Linked DNA regions of Homo sapiens: regions 1, 2 and 4 are each linked to region 3. Evidence: promoter capture Hi-C in 16 types of primary human blood cells and fetal thymus (Javierre and others, 2016). All regions are on one chromosome and are shown on one strand. The core of a region is centred on a gene start or on the middle of the fragment in contact, and the rest is flanking DNA. Distances in the headings are between cores, read along the strand shown. Region 1 overlaps ETFB (electron transfer flavoprotein subunit beta). Region 2 overlaps ZNF175 (zinc finger protein 175). Region 3 holds the start of ZNF444 (zinc finger protein 444). Region 4 holds the start of SPACA6-AS1 (SPACA6 antisense RNA 1).

Region 1 (5,290 bases), core at 1,584-4,083, 4.8 Mb after region 3:
AGACCTCCTGACCTCAGGTAATCCACCCGCCTCAGCCTCCCAACGTGCTGGGATTACAGGTGTGAGCCACTGTGACCAGCTGCAATAAGTGTTTTTATTGGGAGTAGTAGTAATGGATGTTTAGTTAGTCATTTATTCAAAACATAACAAATGCTGTGCTCAGAGTGTATTCGTGTGTGTGTGTGTGTGTGTGTGTGTGTGTGTGTGTGTGTGTATGTGTGTCCGGCTGTGTGTATGTTTCTGGGTATGTGCGTGTATCTAACATTTTAATAGGTATTTGGCAACTCAGTAACACCCTGTCCTGTTCAGGGGCACATTTTACAGGAAGCTGATGAAGCTTAACCTTCAGGGCCTCTTTCAAGACCCCAGGAGAAAGGCTGGGCCTGGTGGCTCACGCCTGTAAACACACACTTTGGGAGGCTGAGGTGGGTGGATCACGAGGTCAGGAGTTCAAGACCATCCTAGCCAACAGAGTGAAACTCTGTCTCTACTAAAAATACAAAAATTAGCTGGGCATGGCGGCGCGTGCCCGTAGTCCCAGCTACTCGGGGGGCTGAGGCAGAAGAATCGCTTGAACCAGGGAGGCGGAGGTTGCAGTGAACCGAGATCGTGCCACTGCACTCCAGCCTGGGTGACAGAGGGAGACTCCGTCTCACAAAAAAAAAAAAAAAAAAAAAAACCCAGGAGAGGCTGGGCAATTTTGTATTCATTATCTGGGATTCATTTTCTTAGAGATGACCCCACAGGATAGAAACTCCAGGCCCAGAAAACGTGTTTCCATCTCGGGGCCCAACCCCGACCAGCCACACCCTCTCGTCTGGGAGCGCCTGGTGTTTCTTCAGGTTTTCCTCTTTGGGCTCCACGCACTTGCCCCTCCTGCTCTCAGCAAGGCCACCTTGTCTGACAGGGCACACGTGGGGCTCACATGTCACCTCAGGGACGAGTTCTCTGTCTGCCCCCCGCCGAGTTAGTGATCTGTCACTGGGGTGGCTCCCTGGCCTTGGCTGTCCTGCTTGCTGAGTGCCCTAGCACGTGCCCAGGGACTCGCTTGACAGAAAAGCCTAGAGGACAGAACCACACAAGTCCTTGAGCTGTGTCAGGGGTTCAGGAAGAGCTGTCGAAAATCACTTTATAAAATCCCTCTTGGGCCGGGCGTGGTGGCTCACACCTGTAATTCCAGCATTTTGGGAGGCCGAGGTGGGCGGATCACCTGAGGTCAGGAGTTCGAGACCAGCCTGGCCAACATGACGAAACCCCATCTCTACTAAAAATAAAAAAATTAGCCAGGCGTGGGCCGGGCGCGGTGGCCCACACGTGTAATCTCAGCACTTTGGGAGGCTGAGGCGGGTGGATCACAAGGTTAGGAGATTGAGACCATCCTGGCTAACACGGTGAGACCTTGTCTCTACTAAAAATACAAAAAATTAGCCAGGCGTGGTGGCAGGCGCCTGTAGTCCCAGCTACTGGGGAGGCTGAGGCAGGAGAATCGCTTGAACCCAGAAGGTGGAGTTTGCAGTGAGCCAAGATCATACTACTGCACCCCAGCCTGGGCAACAGAACAAGACTCTGTATCAAAAAGAAAGAGAAAGAGAGAGAGAGAGAGAGAGAGAAAGAGAGAAAGAAAAGAGAAGAGAAGAAAATCCCTCTTGCCTGCAGTGGACAACAAATAGGAAGACTGGCTCTCCTAACACCGTGGGCACACGTAGCCTCTTTCAGAGTCTCACAGTTCCCAAGACAGATTTGGGGTTAGACCCGTGGTCCTGCCACTTCCATGCTCAGTGGCCCTGGCCAAGGTACTTGGCCTCTCTGTGCCTCAGTTGCCTCATCTGTAAAATGAGAGGTAATGGCAGTAACCAACCTCACAGGCTACTAGGATGGTCAAACGAGTTAATGCATATAAAACCCTTGACTCGTTGTCTGCATGGGTCAGTGCTGCTTTTAAAAAAATTTTTTTTTTCTTTTCTTTTTTTTTTTTTGAGATAGAATCTGGTCTGTCACCCAGGCTGGAGTGCATTGATGTGATCCCTGCTCACTGCAACCTCCACCTCCCGGGTTCAAGTGATTCTCCTCCCTCAGCCTCCCAACTAGCTGGAATTACAGGCATGTGCTAAAACGCTCGACTAATTTTTGTATTTTTAGTAGAGATGGGGTTTTACCATGTTGGCCAGGCTGGTCTCGAACTCCTGACCACAAGTGATCCACCCACCTCAGCCCCACAAAGTGCTGGGATTACAGGTGTGAGCCGCCACGCCCAGCTTTGAGGCTGTTTTTGATATTGGTGGATATGTCGTCTCTTTAAGAGAAAGCCAGCACTTAATGCTGAATGATTTACCTCAATTATAAAACTTTTTTTTTTTCTTTTTGAGACAAGGTCTAGCTCTGTCACCCAGGCTAGAGTGGTACAGTCACAGCTCGCTGCAGCCTCGACCCTCCTGGGTTCAAGCCGTCCTCCCACCTCAGCCTCCTCAGTAGCTGGGACTACAGGTGCACGCCACCATGACCTGCTAATTTTGTTTTTTGGTAGAGATGAAGTCTCTCTATGTTGCCCAGGCTGGTCTTGAAATCCTGGGCTCCAGTGATCCTCCTTCCTCAGTCTCCTAAGGTGCTGGGATTACAGGCATGAGCCATCATTATTTAAAAAACAAACAAGCTATCATTTTTCAGCCCTACCATTGTTTCCTGACTTATGTAATATAACTAAACTGTTTTTGAAGCTTAAAATCAACTCAAGCTTAATTGAGAAGATGAGCTAGTTTGTTTCCTCAGGTGTGTGTGCGTGCGTGTGTGTGTGTGTGTCTGGAAAGTTCTTACCCTTTCTCCTCAGGAGTCAGGAGCCTGGGAATCAGGAGCTTAGGGCTGGGAGTTCTGCCAGAGCAAGAGCAAGATGTGGCTTGAGGCCCTTCAGAAGCCTCCCTGACTCACAGCAAGAAGCTTGGGGCCTCTTACTGATGGGTGGATGAGGTTCTTTTCTGTCTTAAAGGGGCAACTCCTATGTTGTGTTTTTTTTTTTAAGAAAAAAGGCCAGGCACTGCGACTCACACCTGTAATCCCATCACTTTGGTAGGCTGAAGCAGGCGGATCACTTTAGGCCAGGAGTTCCAGACCAGCCTGGGAAACACGGGGAAATCCTTTCTCTACAAAAAGTAAAAAAAAAAAAATTAGCCCGGCATGATGGTGCCCGCCTGTGGTCCCAGCTACTGGGGAGGCTGAAGTGGGAGGATCACCTGAGCCCGGGAGGTGGAGGTTGCAGTAAGGCAAGGTGGCACCTCTGCACTCCAGCCTGGGCAACGAGAGAGATGAAAATAACAGTTCTTTCTCTTTCCTCTCCTCTTCCAGCTCCTTCTCCTCTTTCTCCTTTTTCTTTTTCTTTTTCTTTTTTGAGATGAGGTCTTGCTCTGTCACCCAGGTTACATGTAGTGGCATGATCACGGCTCACTGCACCCTTGACCTCCTGGGCTCAGGTGATCCTCCCGCCTCAGCCTCCTGAGTAGCTGGGACTACAGGTGTGTGCCACCATACCTGGCTGTTTTTTTTTTTTTTTTTTTGTTGTTGTTTGTTTGTTTGTTTTGAGGCGGAGTCTTGCTCTGTCGCCCAGGCTGGAGTGCCGTGGCGCAATCTTGGCTCATTACAACCTCCACCTCCTGGGTTCAAGCAATTCTCCCTGCCCCAGCCTCTGAGTAGCTGCAATTACAGGCGTGCACTACCATGCCCGGCTAATTTTTTATTTTATTTTTATTTTTAGTAGAGATGGGGTTTTGCCATGTTGGCCAGGCTGGTCTTGAACTCTTGACCTCAGGTGATCCGCCCACCTTGGCCTCCCAAAGTGCTGGGATTACAGGCATGAGCCACCACGCCCAGCTGTTTTTGTTTTTGTTGTTGTTGTTTGTAGAACCTGTTGCCCAGGCTAGTATCCAACTCCTGGGCACAAGTGATCCTCCCACCTTGGCCTCCCAAATTTCTGGGATTACAGACAGGAGCCACTGCGCCCGGTCTCAGTCCTCCATCTTTTAATGTTACCCTCTCCATGAGGCACAGCCAGAGTGGGAAGCCCCTTATGGGTCCCACCTTCTCATCTCGGATTCTGTCCTGCCTGTGGGAGGAACAGTTACACCCACAGCCCCAGAGAAAAAGGGGCAGGGAAATAGCAAGAGCATCCCAGTGTCCTCACCAGGCTCAGCTGCCACCCGAGATCTGCTCTGGCCAAGCCCTGGGTGGCGGCCACATGGGAGAAGAGGAAGAGGGCAGGCTCCAGGCCAAATGGGGCAGCTCCCTAGCAAGGCTTCTGTGGATGTCCCTGGAGGCTTTTTAAAAATTTGTGCCCCAAACCAAACTCGCCGTCTTCCCGGCTCTGGCTGATGTACTGACTGGAAGCCCCTTTTTGGTGTCATCTTCCCATCACGAACCATGGCCTGTCAGTTGCACCTCCAGAAACCTCTTGCATCTGTCTCTGCTGTCACAGCTGTCTGAGCCACTGTCACCTCTCACTTTGGTGACAAACAGCCACCCAGCTCTCTCCCCACTTCCTCTCATCCTTTTCCAATTTTCTCCACCAAGAATCCAGAATGACCTTATAAAAACTCAGGTTGGGCCAGGAGCGGTGGCTCACGCCTGTAATCCCCTGCCTTTGAGAGGCCGAGGTGGGTGGATCACCAGAGATCGGGAGTTCGAGACCAGCCTGGCCAACATAGTGAAACCCTGTCTCTATTAAAAATACAAAAAATTAGCTGGGCGTGGTGGTGGGCACCTGTAATCACAGCTACTCAGGAGGCTGAGGCAGGAGAATCGCTTGAACTGGGGAGGCAGAGGTTGCAATGAGCTGAGATCATGCCACTGCTCTCCATCCTGGACAACAGAGCAAGACTCCATCTCAAAAAAAAAAAAAAAAAGAAAGAAAGAAAAAAAGGATTGTGGTGGGCCAAGAAATAAAATAGCCCTCCAAAACAGCCAGGTTTCAATCCCTGGCACCTGAGAAGGGGAAATCACTTAGAAACAGGGTCTTTGCAGGCTGGCCATGTTGGCTTATGCCTGTAATCCCAGCACTTTGGGAGGCCGAGGAGAGCAGATCACCTGAGGTCAGGAGTTCAAGACCAGCCTGGCCAACATGGTGAAACCCTGTCTCTACTAAAAATACAAAAATTAGCCAGGCGTGGTGATGCATGCCTGTAATCCCAGCTACTTGGGAGGCTGAGGCAGGCAAATTGCTTGAACCCGGGAGGCAGAGGTTGCAGTGAGCCGAGATTTCACCACTGTACTCCAGCCTGGGCGACAGAGCGAGAGCCCATCTAAAAAA
Region 2 (5,898 bases), core at 2,469-4,968, 4.6 Mb after region 3:
TTAGGTAAGATAGTTCAATCATTAAACAAAAACATCATGTCATTAAAAGGAGTATTCATATCTAAAAGCTCTTAAAAATTTTTTAAGGCAGTAATGATTATCGGAGGGCTAGAAAATAAAGTTGAGAAATTCTTCCAGAAAGAGGGTCCAAAACCAAAGAAATAGAAAATGACAGAGCATAAAAACCCTTTTAAATGGAGACTAACAGCTTAAAAATAAAGAGTTTCAGGATTTGAGAGCAGAGAGACTATATGTGTGTGGTAAGGAAGTAGTATATGGGGTGTTTTAGGAAGAAAAAAATGATTTCCAACCTATGAACCCAGGCAAAGATCAACTTAGTGTGAGGGTAAATCAAGTCATTTTCCGTGACATCTTTCTATTAAATATGCAAATATATGATCTTTGCTTTTTGGCGTGACATTTTCATATCATTCATTTTCATATCATTTCACTTTCATGTCATGCTCATATATGTAAACCTCTCAGGTCTTTTGTTTTCGTTTTTGTTTTTTGAGACAGGATGTCACTCTGTCACCCAGGATGGAGTGCAGTGGTGCCATCACAGCTCACTGCAGCCTCAACCTCCTGGGTCAAGTGATTCTCCTATTCTTAAGTTTAGTCTCCGTTATCTGAACAGACATGTTCAGATAAGTTCTCACAGGATTTACTGCCGTGTACCGTCCCCAAGAACTCCTAGGGGATGCACTTTCACGAAATGAGAGTAACGGTAAACCGTGGAAGAGAAAGCCAAAGGATTCAAGAAAGGATTCAAGACACAAGGAACTGGACACTTGACAGAGAAAAAAAGAATTCCCAGGTGATGGTGAACACAGCACCATGAGAAGACAGCGTGAGGCGCCAGGAGAACAGCCAGGTCCAATCGCATCAAGACAAAAAAGCAATAGGAAAGGTTTCCTCAAGGAGATGGCATTGACAGCCCCAACCCTCAAGCAAACTGCCTGCCTTCAATCCCAGGCTGGCTGCTTGCTGACTATGTAAACTTGAGCCACTTATTTCATTCTGTGCCTCAGTCTTCTTGTCTGTAAAGGGGGGATAATGGCAGCAGTACCTCGCAAAGTTATGAGGATTAAAACTGTTCCTGAAGGCCGGGTGTGGTGGCTCATGCCTGTAATCCCAGCACTTTGGGAGGCCGAGGCTGGCGGATCACCTGAAGTCAGGAGTTTGAGACCAGCCTGCCCAACATGGTGAAACCCTGTTTCTACTAAAAATATAAAAATTAGCCAGGCGTGGTGGCAAGTGCCTGTAATCCCAGCTACTCAGGAGAGTGAGGCAGGAGAATGGCTTGAACCCAGGAGGAGAGGTTGCAGTGAGCCAAGATCGCGCCATTGCACTCCAGCCTGGGAGACAAGAGCGAAACTCTGTCTCAAAAAAAAAAAAAAACAAAAAAAAAAACTGTCCCTGAAATAGCGAGGGTTTGCAATTACCTAGTAACAAATTCAATTTATGAAGACAGTGTGTACACACTTGGAGAAAATGGTATAATACATTAACATGTATATAGGCAAGTAAATAATCCATAAAATTGTGTGCTCCAGGGAAAAACCGTAAGTTATGCAGGCAGAGAGTTATCAGGGTGTCTATACAGGCAGCTCTGAATATAGTTTACACAGTCATAATCACAAACAAGGAAGATTGACCTGATCAGAATCTGAACCAGTTCTAGAGAAGGATGGGCAAGGAAAGCAGGTGTTGGGGGTGAAAGTATGAGGAAGCGGGTAAAAGCAAACCTTTTAATGACATGTTTCTTAATTAATTAACGTGTTAATTAACAATCCAAGAGGCAGCAATATAAGCATGTCACTAAAAGATTAGGAGGTAAATGCCAAAATAATTAGCTAAAAATGTAAAATGTGATTGCCTGGGAGGAGCTGGAACTTTGGTAAAAATATAGCAAGTGACAGCCCTTTTAAAAGATTACAGGCTTCACAAAACCATCTGATCCTCTTTCCTATGTTCAAACAAAACTAAAACCTACTTTCAAAGGAAAAAGTAACAAAAAGTATTTACAAACATATGCAAAAAGGACCTTAGGTTATTACTGTGTAAGAACTCTCTTGGGACACTGAGGCAGGCGGATCACGAGGTCAGGAGATCAAGACCATCTTGGCTAACATGGTGAAACCTCATCTCTACTAAAAATACAAAAAAATTAGCCAGCAGTGCTGTCAGGCGCCTGTACTCCCAGCTATTCAGGAGGCTAAGGCAGGAGAACGGCGTTAACCCGGGAGGTGCAGCTTGCAGTGAGCAGAGATTGCGCCACTGCACTCCAGCCTGCGCTTCAGAGCGAGACTCCGTCTCAAAAAAAAAAAAAAAAAAAAAAAAACCTCTCTAAAAATCCGGAGGCTAAACCAAACCAAAATATAAATCAAAAGGTAAGAAAAAGTAACTCACTAAAGACAAGTAATTGACCAATAAAATTATGAAAAAAAAGCCTGTTTGTAAACAAAGTAATGCAAATTAAAACACTATACTATCTTTATTTCCATCACATTAGAAAAGATAAAAATAACAAAATAAAAATAGTACTGTCCAGAGCAGAGGGAAATACACACCACAAAGAGAAGATAATGTGCATGGTACTGGGATATACTCTGACATGAATTCAGACACTGATGGAAAATCTGAATTAGCGACAGCAGTATTGATTCAAATGATAAACTGGAAATCAGGTCAAGCAGAAAAAAAATTTCATTGTTAAAAAAGGAAAAAAGCTTATATTGAACATGTGTCCTAAAACGCTAAACTTGAAGATGTTCTGAACACGCAAGTTGACCAACATCAATGCAAATGAGAGAAACGTTTGTGCATCTGCACTGCTGTCACAAAGACTTAGACAATTTCATGTTTTAAACTTGTTTTGTTTTGAGACAGGGTCTCACTCTATTGCCCAGGCTGGAGTGTAGTGTCATGATTGCAGCTCACTGCAACCTTGACCGCCTCAAGCTCAGGTGATCCTCCCACGTCAACGTACTCAGTAGCTGGGACTACAGGTGCATGCCACCACACCTGGCTAATTTTTGTATTTTTGTAGAGTCTCGCCATGTTGCCCAGGCTGGTCTCCAACTCCTGGGCTCAAGTGATCCGCCCGCCTCGGCCTCCCAAAGTGCATGAGCCACTGTGCCCCACCTAAACTTGTATGTTTCAATTTTTCTTTTAAGAACGACTTTTAAATATTTGGGGTATTTACAATTTTGAAAATGATTTATATGTGCAATTTATTTTGTGTTAATGTTCCCTTCTTTTAATACTTTCTATTATCAAATGTTTCTAGCAGGTTGAGATGATTTTAACAGGTTACTGAAATATATAATCTCACAATATATTGGTTCAGGATAATAACACACATATTTATTATACTTTTTTTAAAAAACAGAACATCTCTGTAAATTTGGTTATAAACCCATCACAGAACAATGGTACACTGTTTACTATTATAGTCACATACTATTTAAAGACTTGTAAATAAAGCATCAAGAGATACACAGAATAATTTAGGATTTCAGGAAATCTTGACTATACCAAGAATTCTGATTTCTTGTTACCAAATCCTGACTATTTCTATCTGTGGGCAATCTGGAAACACTGTTTTCCAGCATTTTTTGTTCACCTTTTTAAACAGGAAAAAGTGTTTAAAAGCCTCTTCACATGGTCCTTAAAAGCCTCTTCTCACTCTACCTCCCTGTGACTATTTAAATTACAAAGGAAGGAGATTTTGCCGCACCTTATGAGAACAGAGGAAAAACGGGCCAAACCCCATGGACCAAGCAAGGAATTTGGTGGGGGGGACCACTTGAAATTTTTCAAAGACCCAGTGGTGGATGAAGGAGCAGAACCAGTGCTTAGCAGGAAAGAGTCAGCTTTTCCATCCTATGACTGGGGCTTCTGATCAGACCAGGGACTACAGTTTCTTCTTTCTTGACCCAAGGCCAACCCTCTACTATCCTCTTTTATCAGCCAGTTCATGGTTTCCTCTAGAACACAGATAGCCTATGAATGTGGAAACATCAGCCTCTGTGGTCCTCGCTTGACAGGAGGCTCAAGACTGACTCAGGAGCAGGGAGCCCAGACCTGCTGCATCCTGTGTCTGCCCTCACGTTCTGGAGAACTATCCCCAGGGCTGCCCCTGTTTACCTCGCAAGATCCATCCTGCTTCTCTGGACCCAGGACCTGAGGCTTCTGGGATAAATTCACATCAGCAGGCATCTCCACTCTGGGCTTCTACTCTCGGTCTCTCTTGCTGACAACTCCACTTTTCCCAGGAGCCAGAAGCTGGATAGGTGTTTGGATTTTCCAACCAGGGACACGGCGGAGAGTCGTACTGGGCTATGAAGAGAGATCCTGCAGCCTCAATGATGTGGCCTGACCTGGGGGTTCTGCAGAAGCCTTGGAAAAGCAATGAGTACATGGTCACTCATTCAACATTCACTCCACAAATATTTCCTGAGGGCACTGAGGTGAAGTCACTGTGTCAGACATTGGAGTAGACAAAGTTCAGAAAGCCCAACTCTAGTTATTAGTCAGGGTTAAAAATAAAGACTGAGTCTGGACTAAATGGTGAATTCATTGCAGCTTTGCCACATTTTCACTGTGAGAATATGAAAATATTACTTTAGTTGTAGTTTCCAAAATGAAAATGCAGGTATTTATCACAGATGTTGGGAAACTTAACCAAGATGAAGCTTGTCAAGTCCTCAGTGCCTGCCTGGCACGTGATAAATATGAATTAAAAAAAGAAAGTTGTCAATTTAATTGTCAGCTAAATATCATGGGCATTATCATACCCATTTTGAGGATGAGGATAATGAGGCTGTGTGCTGTTACATAATTTGCCTGAAGGTTACTCAGTCTGTAAATGGAAAAACAGGGAATCAGCCCCACATCTGCCTTGTTCTAAACTGTACACTGTCTCCACTATCTCATGTACCCATACGTGGCCAGCTTCCAGAAACACCATTTCCTCTTTCTGTTGCCTTCATAGAACTCAGGCCGGGAGGTGGCTCTGTCTGGTGTACCTATTCTGAGCTTCTGGACTTTTCAGTCCCCGTCCATAATACACCACACACAGACCAGCCTCTTCTGACTAGAGCTAAAACTTAAAATCACTGTCCCAATCCCCATCTTGACACAGAAAATTTGCAGACATGCATCAGGGCCTCCAGTTACCATTTCTTGCCTGTCCACAATAAGTTGCCCCCACCGCACCTGAATGCAATCACTGACAGGACTGACTTTCAGAAATCCCCAATGAGTGTACTACAGGGCTGCCAGAAAGTTCCAAAATGCCTCCCAGTCACTGACATGGCACAGGCTTCTGAAATCTTTACTGCCCTGATAGCCAAGAAATGTTTCCCAGCGAGCACAATTTTCTGGTTTCCATAAAACGACAAATAATCCCCAACATAGGGGTCCAAATGAAATGCCCCAATAGGAAACCATCATCGATGTGCTCAACTGTCAATTACTGATCCTTACCATGTCCAAGGGACCCAAGAAGAGGCCAACACTGACCCACCCACCAATCCCTGAAGGACCCCAACACTCACTGCCTAGAAAGCAATGCATTCACCCTCACAAATCCCCATCATTGACCCCCTACGCCTCCAGTCAACTGGCTGCCATAGGCTACCCCTGGCAACCCCACTCTACTGATTCCTATAGGTTGCCCATCACTGGTCCCCTGAGAGTGTTACAGTGTGATCCTCAAAGTCCTCCAACCTCTGAAGCTCTTGGCTGCCAATCAATCACTGACTCCCCTAGTCCCACGGACAGTGAATCCCTTCCCTGAACGTCCTCCAGCACCATCCGCAAAGGCGCTCTTAAGATGCACGTTCACTGTCCTCAAGTTAGCAAGTTTCGTGGACCAATATAAAATCCGAT
Region 3 (5,500 bases), core at 1-2,500:
ACCAGCATCTCTGCCTCTTTTCATGAGATGCCAGTAGCACTTCCCAAGTTGGAAAAACCAAAAAAAAAGTCTCCAGACATTGCCACATGTCCCCTGGGGGACAAAACCACTCCTGGTTGAGAGCCGCTGGCCCACTGGACAAATATTTACCTACGGCACAAAGGCTCTGGGGCAAATTCCAGCTCTGCCTCCTACCAGCTCTGTGTCCTTGGACGAGGTACAAGGCACCTTTTGTAATACCCTGTATCTCCATTTCGTTGACTGTAAAGTGATAGAAGGAGAACAAAAATGCTGAGAACCACACCTGGCTAGTAAGTGTCCAGTCAGACTTAGGGTTACTTTGTCGAAGTTTCCCTGCGAGGTGCCCAGGGGACACTGCTATGAACACGCACGCAGATTAAAATACTAAGTATACATTGGAATAGGCGTTAAAATCGGATATAGAGGAGGGTGACTCCATCCTGACTGGGGTAGAGGTGGCGGGGGTCAACTTCATTTGACAATAAACAGAGTTTCTAAGCACTTTACACATATTACCGAAGGTAATAATGCCTTGCAACAAGCTAAAAAGGCAGATGCTCCGCACTGAGAAAGCAGCAAAACAGAGCAACGATTCTTATCTTCAGGAATCTCACAACTCTGTAAAAGTTGCACTTGTAGAAGCAGCGCGCAAAACGAGCCACCTGCGCCGTATCTACGTTACAACAATAACCATCGTCCCCGGAAGCCCCTTCCCGCAAACCTTTCCGAAGGGGTCCGGTCCCGGCGCCCCCAGACTCCTTTGTAGGGTCCAGCTTCCCACTCAGCTTTCATCTCACAGCCCACCCTCTGCTAGGGTCCCCTTCCCCTCCCCCACCTGTCCCTCCCCCGTCCCGCCCCTCCCCCTCCCCCAGGCGCCCCTCCCCCGTCCTCTCCCTCAGCATTTCTCTCCCGCGTTCAGGACCTCGAGGATCCACGACCCCCTCCCACTATCCACCCCTCCCCCTCTCCAAGTCCCTCCCCCTCTAGTTCCCTCTCCCAGCCCCTTCCCCATCACTCAGCCCCCTTCTCCTCCCCTCCCCGCAAGTCTCCCATCTTTCCCTCCTGAGGCCCCCGGCGCCCCTCTTCCCATCCAACCTCTGGTCCCTCCCTCGTCCAACCGCCCCCACCCAATCCCTCCCTCCTTCCCCCCTCGCTCACCTCACTCTCTCAGGCGAGGCCCCCCAAGCCCCCTCACCTCCCCGCACATGCGCACAAAGCTCGCCGGGACTCCATGCCCCAGCAGGCTTTGCGCCAAACTCCCCCGTCCCCCTCCCCCAATCCCATACTCCGAGCCGCTCGTTCAGCCCAACAACTCCCCATGAAGCCCCGGCCTCACCCCGAACTACAACTCCCAGGAAGCATCGCGGCAAAGGCGGCTGCCAATTGGCCCTCGCCTGGGGACCGCCTTACTCCTGTTTGTCACCGCGTGGCGTCTTCGCCAACACTGGAACTACATTTCCCAAGATACGCGAAAGCGTCGTCTGCAGCCTATTTGGCCTTGACGGCGCAAATGTCGCGGGCTGTCTGAGCGCGACAGGCTTTGGACTACATTTCCCAGAATGCACGAGGAGGCTTCCCAGTGGTCTGCGCGCGGGCCCTGGACATGCGCAGAAGTGCCGGGAAAAAAAGAGGGAGGAGGAGGAGGAGCCATGGCGGCGTTGTTGTGGAGATCAGGGGAGGCCGGGCACCGCCGGGCATTTGGGAGGTGGGGCCTCCGGAGCTCTAGAAGCTGGCAAGCGAAGAGGAGGAGGAGGAGGAGACCAGGCTAGAGTTCTGCGCCAATCAGGAGTGCAGGCTACGTCTCCTTGACTACGGATCGCATTTTTTTTTGTCCTCCCTCTCCACCCGGGCAGAACTTAAGGGCCGATGTCGGTGCCAGGAATCAGGACGTGAGCAGGCTGCCCTCCTGTTCCGGGGTGGGCAGTGGCTCAGGAGGGGGCCAGCGCGGGGGCCTCGGTTTGGCTCTTCCTGTGTGTGAACCTGGACAGGACACCGCCCTCTCTTTAGCCTCAGTTTCCCCTGGGGTGAATTGGGGGACAGCGCTACCTGCCACGCGTCCTCGCTGTGCCCCTATTGGACAGACTACTGCCCCGTCCTGAGGCCTCAGTTTCTGCATCTCAGAACTGTGAAGAAGCATATTTGGATTTTAGAGCAGACAGACATCCTAAGAGATCAGCTGAAGTTTTTATCTAGACAGTTCCAGACCTGATTATGGCTCATACAAGCCCTACCCCAGCCCGCAGCGTATTTCCTCCTCCGTACAACAAGGATAAGAGAATCCCCCTCCCATCCTCCACCTCCCCGGCTGATCTGAAGACTCCGCGCCATAAAAACGAAGACAGTGGCTTACCCATAACAAGCATTCATTACATGGAAGTTGTTCGTCTTATATTCATAAATGAACAACTTTCCCCAGGTTTCACAAGCGATGAGTGGCTGACTCAGAACTTTGTGACCAGTTTGCCCACGGTGGCCTAATCTGCCCTGGCCCACCTGTCTACCACTGTCTTCTCCTCGTGTTTAATGAGTTCCAGTCATGCCTCCTTTCTGCTCCTAGAGCACGCTGATCTTCTTCCCACTCATATCCGATGGCCTACTTGACATCTCCTCTTGGATTTCTTAATAGGCATCTCAAACCTAAGGTGGGCAGTAGATAATTTTTCACTCTCTCCCCCACCTTGCGAAGAAATTTGTTCCTTCCCATTACTCCACCATCTTAGAAAGCAAGTCCATCTTCACCCAAATGTTGAGGCCAAAAATAGAAAAGCAGCCCTTGATTCTTTTTTCTTTTTTTTTTTTTGGTTTTTTGTTTTGTTTTGTTTTGTTTTTTGATACAGGGTCTGGCTGTGTTGCCCAGGCTGGAGTGCAGTGGTGCGATCACAGCTCACTGCAACCTCCGACTCCCAGTCTCAAGTGATTCTCATGCTGCATCCTCCTGAGTAGCCAGGACTACAGGCGTGCACCACCATGCCCAGCTAATTTTTGTATTTTTAATAGAGATGGGGTTTGCCATGTTGGCCAGGCTGGTCTCGAACTCCTGGCCTCAAGTGATCTGCCTCCTCGGCCTCCCAAAATGCTGTGATTGCAAGCGTGAACCACCATGCCCAGCCAATTCCTCTTTTTCATCACCATCCACATGCAATCTATCATCAGGTCCTATTGGCTCTGTCTTCAAAATAGATGCAGAATCTGTCCACAGCTCTCCCGTCTATGGCTACCACCTGGTTTAAGTCCCCATGGCCTCTTTAGACACTGTCATGCTTCCACTCTCGCCTCTTCTGCCTCCTGCCCCTCAGTTCCTGCTCCACACAGCGCCAAAGGGATCTTTTTTTTTTAATTGTGGTAAAATATATACAAGATAAAAATTACCATCTTAATCATTTTTAAGGTACAGTTCAGTAGCATTAAGTACATTCAAGCTAGGCCGGGTGTGGTGGCTCACGCCTGTAATCCCAGCACTTTGGGAGACCGAGGCGTGCGGATCAGAAGTTAGGAGTTCGAGACCACCCTGGCCAACATGGTGAAACCCCGTCTCTACTAAAAATACAAAAATTAGCTGGGCATGGTGGCGGGCACCTGTAATCCCAGCTACTCGGGAGGGTGAGGCCAGAGAATCTCTTGAACCTGGAAGGTGGAGGTTGCAGTGAGCTAAGATTGCACCGCTGCACTTCAGTCCGGGCAACAGAGTCAGACTCTGTCTCAAAAAAAAAAAAAAAAAAAAAAGTACATTCAAGCTGTGCAATCATCACTACTGTCCATTTCCCGAATTTTTCATCTTCCCAAATTGAAATTGTACCCATTAAATGTGAACCACCCATTCCTCTCTCCCCCGAGCTCCTGGCCAACCACCATTCTGTTATCAGTTTCTGTAATTTATTTATTTGAGACAGGGTCTGAATCTGTTGGCCAGACTGGAGTCCAGTGGCTCAGTCTTGGCTCACTGTGACTTCTGCTTCCCAGGCTCAAGGGATTCTCCCACATTGGCCTCCCGAGTAGCTGAGACTACAGGTGCACACAACCACGCCCAGCTAATTTTTTTTTTTCTTTTTTTTGTAGGGACAGCGTTTTGCCATGTTACCCAGGCTGGGTTTAAACTCCTGGTCTCAAGTGATCCACCTGCCTCAGCCTCCCAAAGTGTTGGGATTACAGGTGTGAGCCACCATGCCCAGCCCAGTTTCTGTGATTTTGACCACATTAATACTTCATGTAAGTGGAATCATACCGTATTTGTTTTTTGTGACTGACTTATTTAACTTGGCAGAATGTCCTCAAGGTTAATCCATGTTGTAGTGTATGTCAAAATCTCCTTCCTTTTAAAGATTGCCTAATATTCTGTTGCATACACAGACCATATTTTGTTTACCCATTTATCAGAGGAATTTTGTTTTTTAAGATGGAGTTTTCCTTCTCGTCACCCAGGCTGGAGTGCAATGGTTCCATCTCAGCTCACTGCAACCTCCACCTCGAGGGTTCAAGCGATTCTCCTACCTCAGCCTCCTAAGTAGCTGGGATTACAGGCGCCCGCCACCACACCCAGCTAATTTTTTTGTAATTTTAATAGAGACGGGGTTTCACCATGTTGGCCAGGCTGGTCACAAACTCCTGACCTCAGGTCATCCACCCGCCTCGGCCTCCCAAAGTGCTGGGATTACAGGCGTGAGCCACCGAAACTGGTCCCAGAGGGATCTTATTTAAACTTAAATAGGGTCATGTCACTTTTGCTTAAAACCCTCCATTGCAAACCCTTGTCGCTAGCCTGCACAGTCCCACATGATGTGCCTTCAGACCCAGAGCTCCTTTAGCTTATAGAGTGCCTTTGTGTGTGTTAGAAAAGCATGGCCCTCAGAAGCACTGCAGAACTGAGCCGGGGCACACAGCTTGGCAGGCAGATCCGGAGGAATATTCCAGCCACCTCTTCCTGGTTGGCCAGGTGCCTGCATGTCATATACAGGGTTCACACAGGCTCTCGATCCAACACCGTTTCCTTCTTCATCACTATGTTTCAACTCATTGGCCACTTTTTTTTTCTTTTTCTTTTTCTTTTTTGAGGCTGAGTCTCGCTCTGTCACCCAGGCTGGAGTGTAGTAGCTTGATCTTGGCTCATTGCAACCCCCTTCTCCCAGGCTTAAGCGATTCTTCCACCTCAGACTCCTGAATAGTTGGGACAACAGGCACCCACCACCACACCAGTTAATTTTTGTATTTTTAATAGAGACGGGGTTTTGCCATGTTGGCCAGGCTGGTCTCAAACTCCTGACCTCAGGTAATCCGCCCGCCTCGGCCTCCCAAAGTGCTGGGATGACAGGCGTGAGCCACCGCGCCAGGCCTCATGGGTCACTCTTTTAAGTTCCTCTAACACAGCAGTTCTCAAAGTGTAGTCCCCAGACCAGCTGCACAACATCACCTGGGAGCTTGTTAGAAATGCAGATTCTCGGCTGGGCACAGTGGCTCACGCCTGTAATCCCAGCACTTTGGGAGG
Region 4 (5,577 bases), core at 3,076-5,575, 4.4 Mb after region 3:
GAGAAGGTGGTGCCATCTTATTGTTCCCCTCATCCATCCTGCTGCCTGAAAATTTGTTTTGATGGTTGGAGCTCTAGCAGCCACACGGGACCATGAGGACAAGGGCTACTCCCTGGGATATTAAGTCTTGAAGGAGCTTGGATCCCCAAGAAATGGAGGTGCCATATTAGCCTTAAGTGCCTACCACAAGACTTACTTTATATAGGAGAGCTAAACTTCCTACGGGCTTAAAGCCATTGCAGGGACAGGGGAAAGCGTCCTCTGTGATTAAAGCCATACAAAAAGGGAGGGAACTGAGGATATTGGCAAGAAAGTGCCTAAAACAATGATCACTGGATATACACTTGGAGAGAGGAAGCACTGATGCCCAGAAGTGGGTTCCAAATGAGGACCCAGTGGTCTCTCCTTGGCCACAGAGCAGGAGTGTGGTCTCAAGATGGCAGGATGATCAGGAGCATGTGGTCAGACTGGGGTGCACAAATGAGAGGCCAGGATGTTGGAGGAGTCATCCAAAGAATTTCTATGTGCCAAATCAAATGACTCATGGGCAGGGTGAGCGTGGGATATACCAAGTAAGCCATGGTGGCCGGGTGGGCTTATACTCCACCAGGGGAGTATAAGTGGAGTGAAATGTTCCGAACAGGCCAAGTGGCCTGGGTTATAGCAAGCGGGCCATAAGGCGGCATGGGTGGGTGTTGTAAAGTCTCCCCCAGAGGAGTTGCATATCGTCAGGAGCTCTGACCCTGGTTCAGATCATCTGGGTCTGAGTCCTGGTGCTTCCGTCTTGAGCACACCTGTCTCAGATCTGAGTATCAATCACAAGCCCTCCTCCCCATGCGACCTTGGCCAAGTGACTTCACCTTCCTGATCCTCAGTTTCCTCATTCATCAAATGAGGATGACAGCAGTGTCTGTATCACAGAATTAGCGGGAGGATGAGACGCCATACAACCATGAAAGCATCCTCATCCCCACTCTTCCATGGCATCGTTTAATGATTGTATGAGATGGTGTCACTAAGTGTGTAGAATGGCTCCTAGCACGTAGTGAGTGTTAGAGAAGGCTGGCAAACTTAGGATTGCCATCTCCAAGTTTGAGGTGGGGAAACGGAGGCATGGGGAGATTAGAGAAGTGGTCCAAAATCACATGGCTACATTTGACCCTGGTGGTCAGGCTCCAGAGCCTCCACACCTAATCGCTGCATACATAATCTCCACACCTAATACTGCATCCAGTCTGTACCACGTCATCTACTCCATGGTTTATATATACATATATACAAATAAGATCACCTGGGATCACCAAGAGGCAGTCAGCCTACATCAGCTCCTCCATCTCCCTGCTGCTCCCTCTGGAGGAGACGCAAAAGTCATCCTTGATTCTTCCCATTGCCCTCACCCACCTACATCTGGTCCAGTCTATCTCCAAATATATCCTGGGCCTACTGTTCTTGTCCAGAAGAGCCCAGCGTTCCCTTCTGATAAGCGGGGCTATAAAACCCAGCCTCACAGGGCCGGTAGAGGATATCCTTTAGGAAGATACTTAATATGAATGACTCTGTGTATGGCAAACACAGCCTTTTGCACGCATGGGCAAGCCTGGCACACGGTCAAATCCTTATGCCCACCCCACTCTGCTCAGACCTCATCTGGGCCCCCGGACCACTGTGACTGGTCCAAGCCACCATGGGCCGGCTTCTCACTGGAAGTCTTCCTGCCTTTGTCCAGGCCCCATACAGCTGCCAGAGAGATCTTGTTAAATCCCAGGTCAGATCCTGTCTCTCTGTGTAAAGTCCTCCAACAGCTCCCCCATTTCAAGAGCAAAAAACAAAAGTCATTCCAAGGGCCTACAACAGTGATTCTCAAAGAGTGTTCCCGGAGCAGCAGCATCAGCATTCCCTGGGATCTTGACAGAAACGTCCATGTCTGGGCCCTACCTTGGACCTCCTGGTCAGAGGTGGTGAAGCCCAGAAATCTGCATTTTAAATAAGCTCCCAGGGGATTCTGATGTATGCTGGGGCTTGAGAACCCCCTGTCTATGAGGATCTACAGGAGGTGGCCCCTTGCTATCTCTCTGATTTCACCTTTACTCCAGCCCCACGGGCCCCAGGGTCTTGCACTGGCTATTCCCTGTGGCCTGAAAATCTCTTTCCACAGATTATCTGCATGGCTGTCGCTGTCACTGTCACCTTGCTCAGGTCTTTGCTCAACTGGACCCTGTCATTTCCACCTGCCCTGACCAACCTATTTAAAATTATCACCCAGCCAGGTACGGTAGTTCATGCCTGTAATCCCAGCACTTTGGGAGGCTGAGGTGGGAAGATCACTTGAGCCCAGGAGTTCAAGACCAACCCATGCAACATAACAAGACACCATCATTACAAACTATTTAAAAAATTAGCCAAAGATGGTGGCGCACACCTATAGTCCCAGCTACTTGGGAGGCTGAGGCAGGAAGATCGCTTGAGCCCAGGAGTTTGAAGCTGTAGTGAGGTATAATCACATCACTGCAATCCAGCCTGGGTGACAAAGTGAGACCCTATCTCAAAAAAACAAAAAAACTATCACCCCTTTCTCTTCCCCTTCTCTGTTTTCCTCCATGGCAGGGATCACCAACTGACATACTAAGATACTAAGATATTTTATCGATTATGTTTATTGTCTATCTCCCCAGACTCCACCCCAATATAAGCAACCCGAGGACAGGTGGTTTGCAGTTTTGGTCACAGCGGTTGTTCCTGGCACATTCAGTAAGTATAATTGAACGTATTGCACCAGCTTCTCCCGGCCTCCAGACTCTCCCTCTGGTCCATCTTTGACACGACCCCAGAGGGTTCTTTCTACACCCAGAGCTGCCCCTACTTCTTCACTGCTCACACTCCTGCTGCAGCTCCCCAGCGCCCTGAGGAAAGAGACTCAACACTCTCTGACTTTTCTGCTGAACTCTGCACCTAGGTATCTAGCTGCCTCCTAAACGTCCCTGGGACCCCTCAAAGTCACTGCCTTCTAACCCAGCTTATCATCTGCCCCCGGCTCTTTCTCTCAGGCTCCTTATTTCGGTGATGACCCACCGCCCAACAGGCACAGAGCAGGACCTGTCTCAGATGCTGTTCTCTATGCTTCCCAAAACAGCCCAGCAGACCTAACTCTCTGGCCCTGGCCCTTCTCCACCTTCACGGCCCCAGCCCCCACTCGGGCCTCCGCTCTGGCCTGGACCCTCACCCAGCCTCTTCTCTCTCCCCTCCAAGTTTGTCCCCCATGCGGCCCCACAGAAGGCTTCCATTCCCAGATCCAAAGGTTCCTCATCTTTTCAAAAGCTTCTGTAACAAGGCAGCCTATGTGGGGAGAAAGGGCATTTCTTGGAATCCTGCACACCCCCACATGGAGAGGTTTAGGGCCTCAGGTCTCCCTTTAGGGTGGAGATGGGGAGAGCCACAGCTGAGGCCTTCTCCAGGCTGGCCCTGGATGCCCCCTGGGTGGATGGGAACCTTCCCTCTTCCGGGATTGTTGACAGGACGCTTGGAGGGCAAAGCAGGAAGCAAAAGGAGCGACTGTGGGTGTGGGAATAAGCCCTGAGCTCCTGGACCTAAGAGGAAGCCAGTTTATTCTATAGCGCAGGGCTCTGTAACTCCTGCAACTCCGAGCCTCCACAGTTCCAGGGTCTGGCACCTCGTGGGGATCATGGCCATGGTGATCAGGCATGATTACCGCCCATGCTGCCCATCGGCATTGCGTGGCCCCCAGCCCTGAGGTCTCTTCGCACAGCCACACACCTCAAGGCTGTCACATGTGCCTGTCTCACCAGGACAGTCACACCTTGTCTCTTTTCACTGCTGTCACCTGAGTGATCCACTCTGCTGTTCCTGTTTTCCCGCCCTCTAATTGCCTCACACCTCAAAAATGTGGAATCACTTTATAAGAAATCTGTGTGTGTGTGTGAGTGTGAGTGTATGTCTCTGAGCGTGTCTGTGTGCGAGTGTGTGTGTGTTCTATCCTAGAGGAAGATGCCTTCCCTAAGATCAGGCTCATCAGGCAGCCCCAACCCCTGCACTGAGCTCCATGGCCATCCTAGGAGGCAAGAAGATTGTCCCACTTTACAGATGGGTAAGTTGAGGCCAGGAGAGGGGCAGTGACACACCCAGAACTTCATAGCCAGTAAGAGTGTGAGCCATGCAGCCATGGCAGAACCTATGCCTACCCGACCCCATCTGGACTTCCAGCTCTAGGCAATTTCTGCAGCGTCCCTTCCCCCTCACCACCTTCAGCCCCTGGCTCTTAGAGCTGCCTTCAGCCTTCGTTTGGACAAGTAGCTGAGCTCAATGTCTTCCCAGCTTTCCCCTCCCGGATCACTGCCCAACTCTGGGGGCCTCCTTCCTCTGCCCTGGGCCCTCCCACATACCCATTTCTTAGGGGCTCCAAGTCCACATCTCCCATCTCCCCATCCCCACACACTCACCCTGGGCAGCAGCCAGCTCCTGCAGGGCATGGGTCATCTGGGTGAAGGTGTCATGCAGGTGGCTTCTCTCATCATAGTCTGGCGGTGAGGGAGGGAGCAGGGGCTGGGGGAGGCAGCTCCCCGCAACACCATGTCCCTAATGCGAACATTCTGTTTCTGAGTCTCTGCCCTCCCAAGTCTGTATCCTCCCCTCTCTGACTCTTTGCCCCACAGTCGCTATGCTTCCTGAGTCCCTCCCAAGTCTCTATCCTCCCTGAGTCTCTGCCCCCGACCAGTCGCTATCCTGCTTCCCCTAGTCTCTGCCTCATCTCTGTCCTCCTCTCTCTGGGTTTCCATCCTCTTTGAGTCTCCATCTTCCACCCTCTGAGTCTCCATCCTCCCCTCTCTGGGTCTCTATTCCCTCTCCAGTCTCCAACCTCTCCTGACTCTCCATCCTCCCCTTTCTATGAGTCTCCATCCTCCTGACTCTCCATCCTCCCGAGTGTCCATCCTCCCCTCTCTGACTCTCCATACTCCTGAGTCTCCATCTTTCCGAGTCTCCATCTTCCTCTCTCTCTGAGTCTCCATCCTCCCCCTCTCTGAGTCTCCATCTTCCCCTCTCTGACTCTCCATCCTCCCCTCTCTGAGTCTTTGCCCTGCTGTCTTCCCCTGTCTGTGTCTCTCTGTCCCTAAGTCTCTGTTGTTCTCATGGTCTTTGAGCCTTTCTCCTCTGACTGTTTCTCTCTGTCTGTCCCTCAGCCTGACCCTCTGGGCCTCTCCTGCCCTCCCTCTGCACCTTCCCCAGGACACTGATGAAGTGTGGATGGTCTCCTCACTGATTTCGGTGTCAGAGAGGCCCTGGAAGGCGGCCGTGAAGGCCTCCTCACACTCTTCAAGCTTGGGGCTCCGCATCCCAACAAACATCTGGCAGATGCGGAGGCGCTCAGAGTAGGTTGTGAAGCAGAGGAGACAGGCCCAGGCGGGCACCCTGAAGACAGCCAGGGCCAGCAGGGCAGACGGGACGGCACTGGCCAGAGCCAGCAGGGCCATCGTGTGGGTCTCAAGGCCAGGGGAGAAGCTAGTAACCTTTATGAAGTCACCACAGGGCGGGGGAAGGGCCAGTGGTCTGGGGTCAGAGGTCAGG

What was found. The method cuts DNA at HindIII sites, captures the fragments that hold promoters and counts their contacts. A CHiCAGO score of 5 or more calls a contact.
Region 1: a fragment that was not itself captured here is called in contact with the fragment with the promoter of ZNF444 in region 3 in 1 of 17 cell types (total CD4 T cells); the score reaches 6.1 in total CD4 T cells.
Region 2: a contact is called between a fragment that was not itself captured here and the fragment with the promoter of ZNF444 in region 3, in 2 of 17 cell types (total CD4 T cells and naive CD8 T cells). The highest score is 6.4, in total CD4 T cells.
Region 4: a contact is called between a fragment that was not itself captured here and the fragment with the promoter of ZNF444 in region 3, in 1 of 17 cell types (non-activated CD4 T cells). The highest score is 5.8, in non-activated CD4 T cells.

The regions. Positions count from the first base shown.
Region 1 is chr19:51,357,087-51,362,376 of GRCh38, reverse strand. The region is part of intron 1 of ETFB (electron transfer flavoprotein subunit beta); the gene reads left to right. Among named protein-coding and RNA genes, the nearest start is that of ETFB, 6.7 kb to the left of the region's middle. The HindIII fragment of the contact is 200 bases long and covers 2,734-2,933 here.
Region 2 is chr19:51,571,656-51,577,553 of GRCh38, reverse strand. ZNF175 (zinc finger protein 175) reads right to left here. Exons shown (of 5, transcript NM_007147.4): 2 at 4,153-4,404. The coding sequence starts at 4,224. Among named protein-coding and RNA genes, the nearest start is that of ZNF175, 3.3 kb to the right of the region's middle. The HindIII fragment of the contact is 1,968 bases long and covers 2,735-4,702 here.
Region 3 is chr19:56,137,037-56,142,536 of GRCh38, reverse strand. It overlaps ZNF444 (zinc finger protein 444), which reads right to left and starts at 1,250. Exons shown (of 5, transcript NM_018337.4): 1 at 1,180-1,250. RefSeq lists enhancers at 1,288-1,427, 1,458-1,787. The HindIII fragment of the contact is 17,292 bases long and covers 1-5,500 here.
Region 4 is chr19:51,693,433-51,699,009 of GRCh38, reverse strand. It overlaps SPACA6 (sperm acrosome associated 6), which reads right to left. Exons shown (of 9, transcript NM_001316972.2): 1 at 5,270-5,577; 2 at 4,455-4,532. The coding sequence starts at 5,483. SPACA6-AS1 (SPACA6 antisense RNA 1) reads left to right here and starts at 5,554. Exons shown (of 2, transcript NR_108100.1): 1 at 5,554-5,577. The HindIII fragment of the contact is 2,015 bases long and covers 3,318-5,332 here.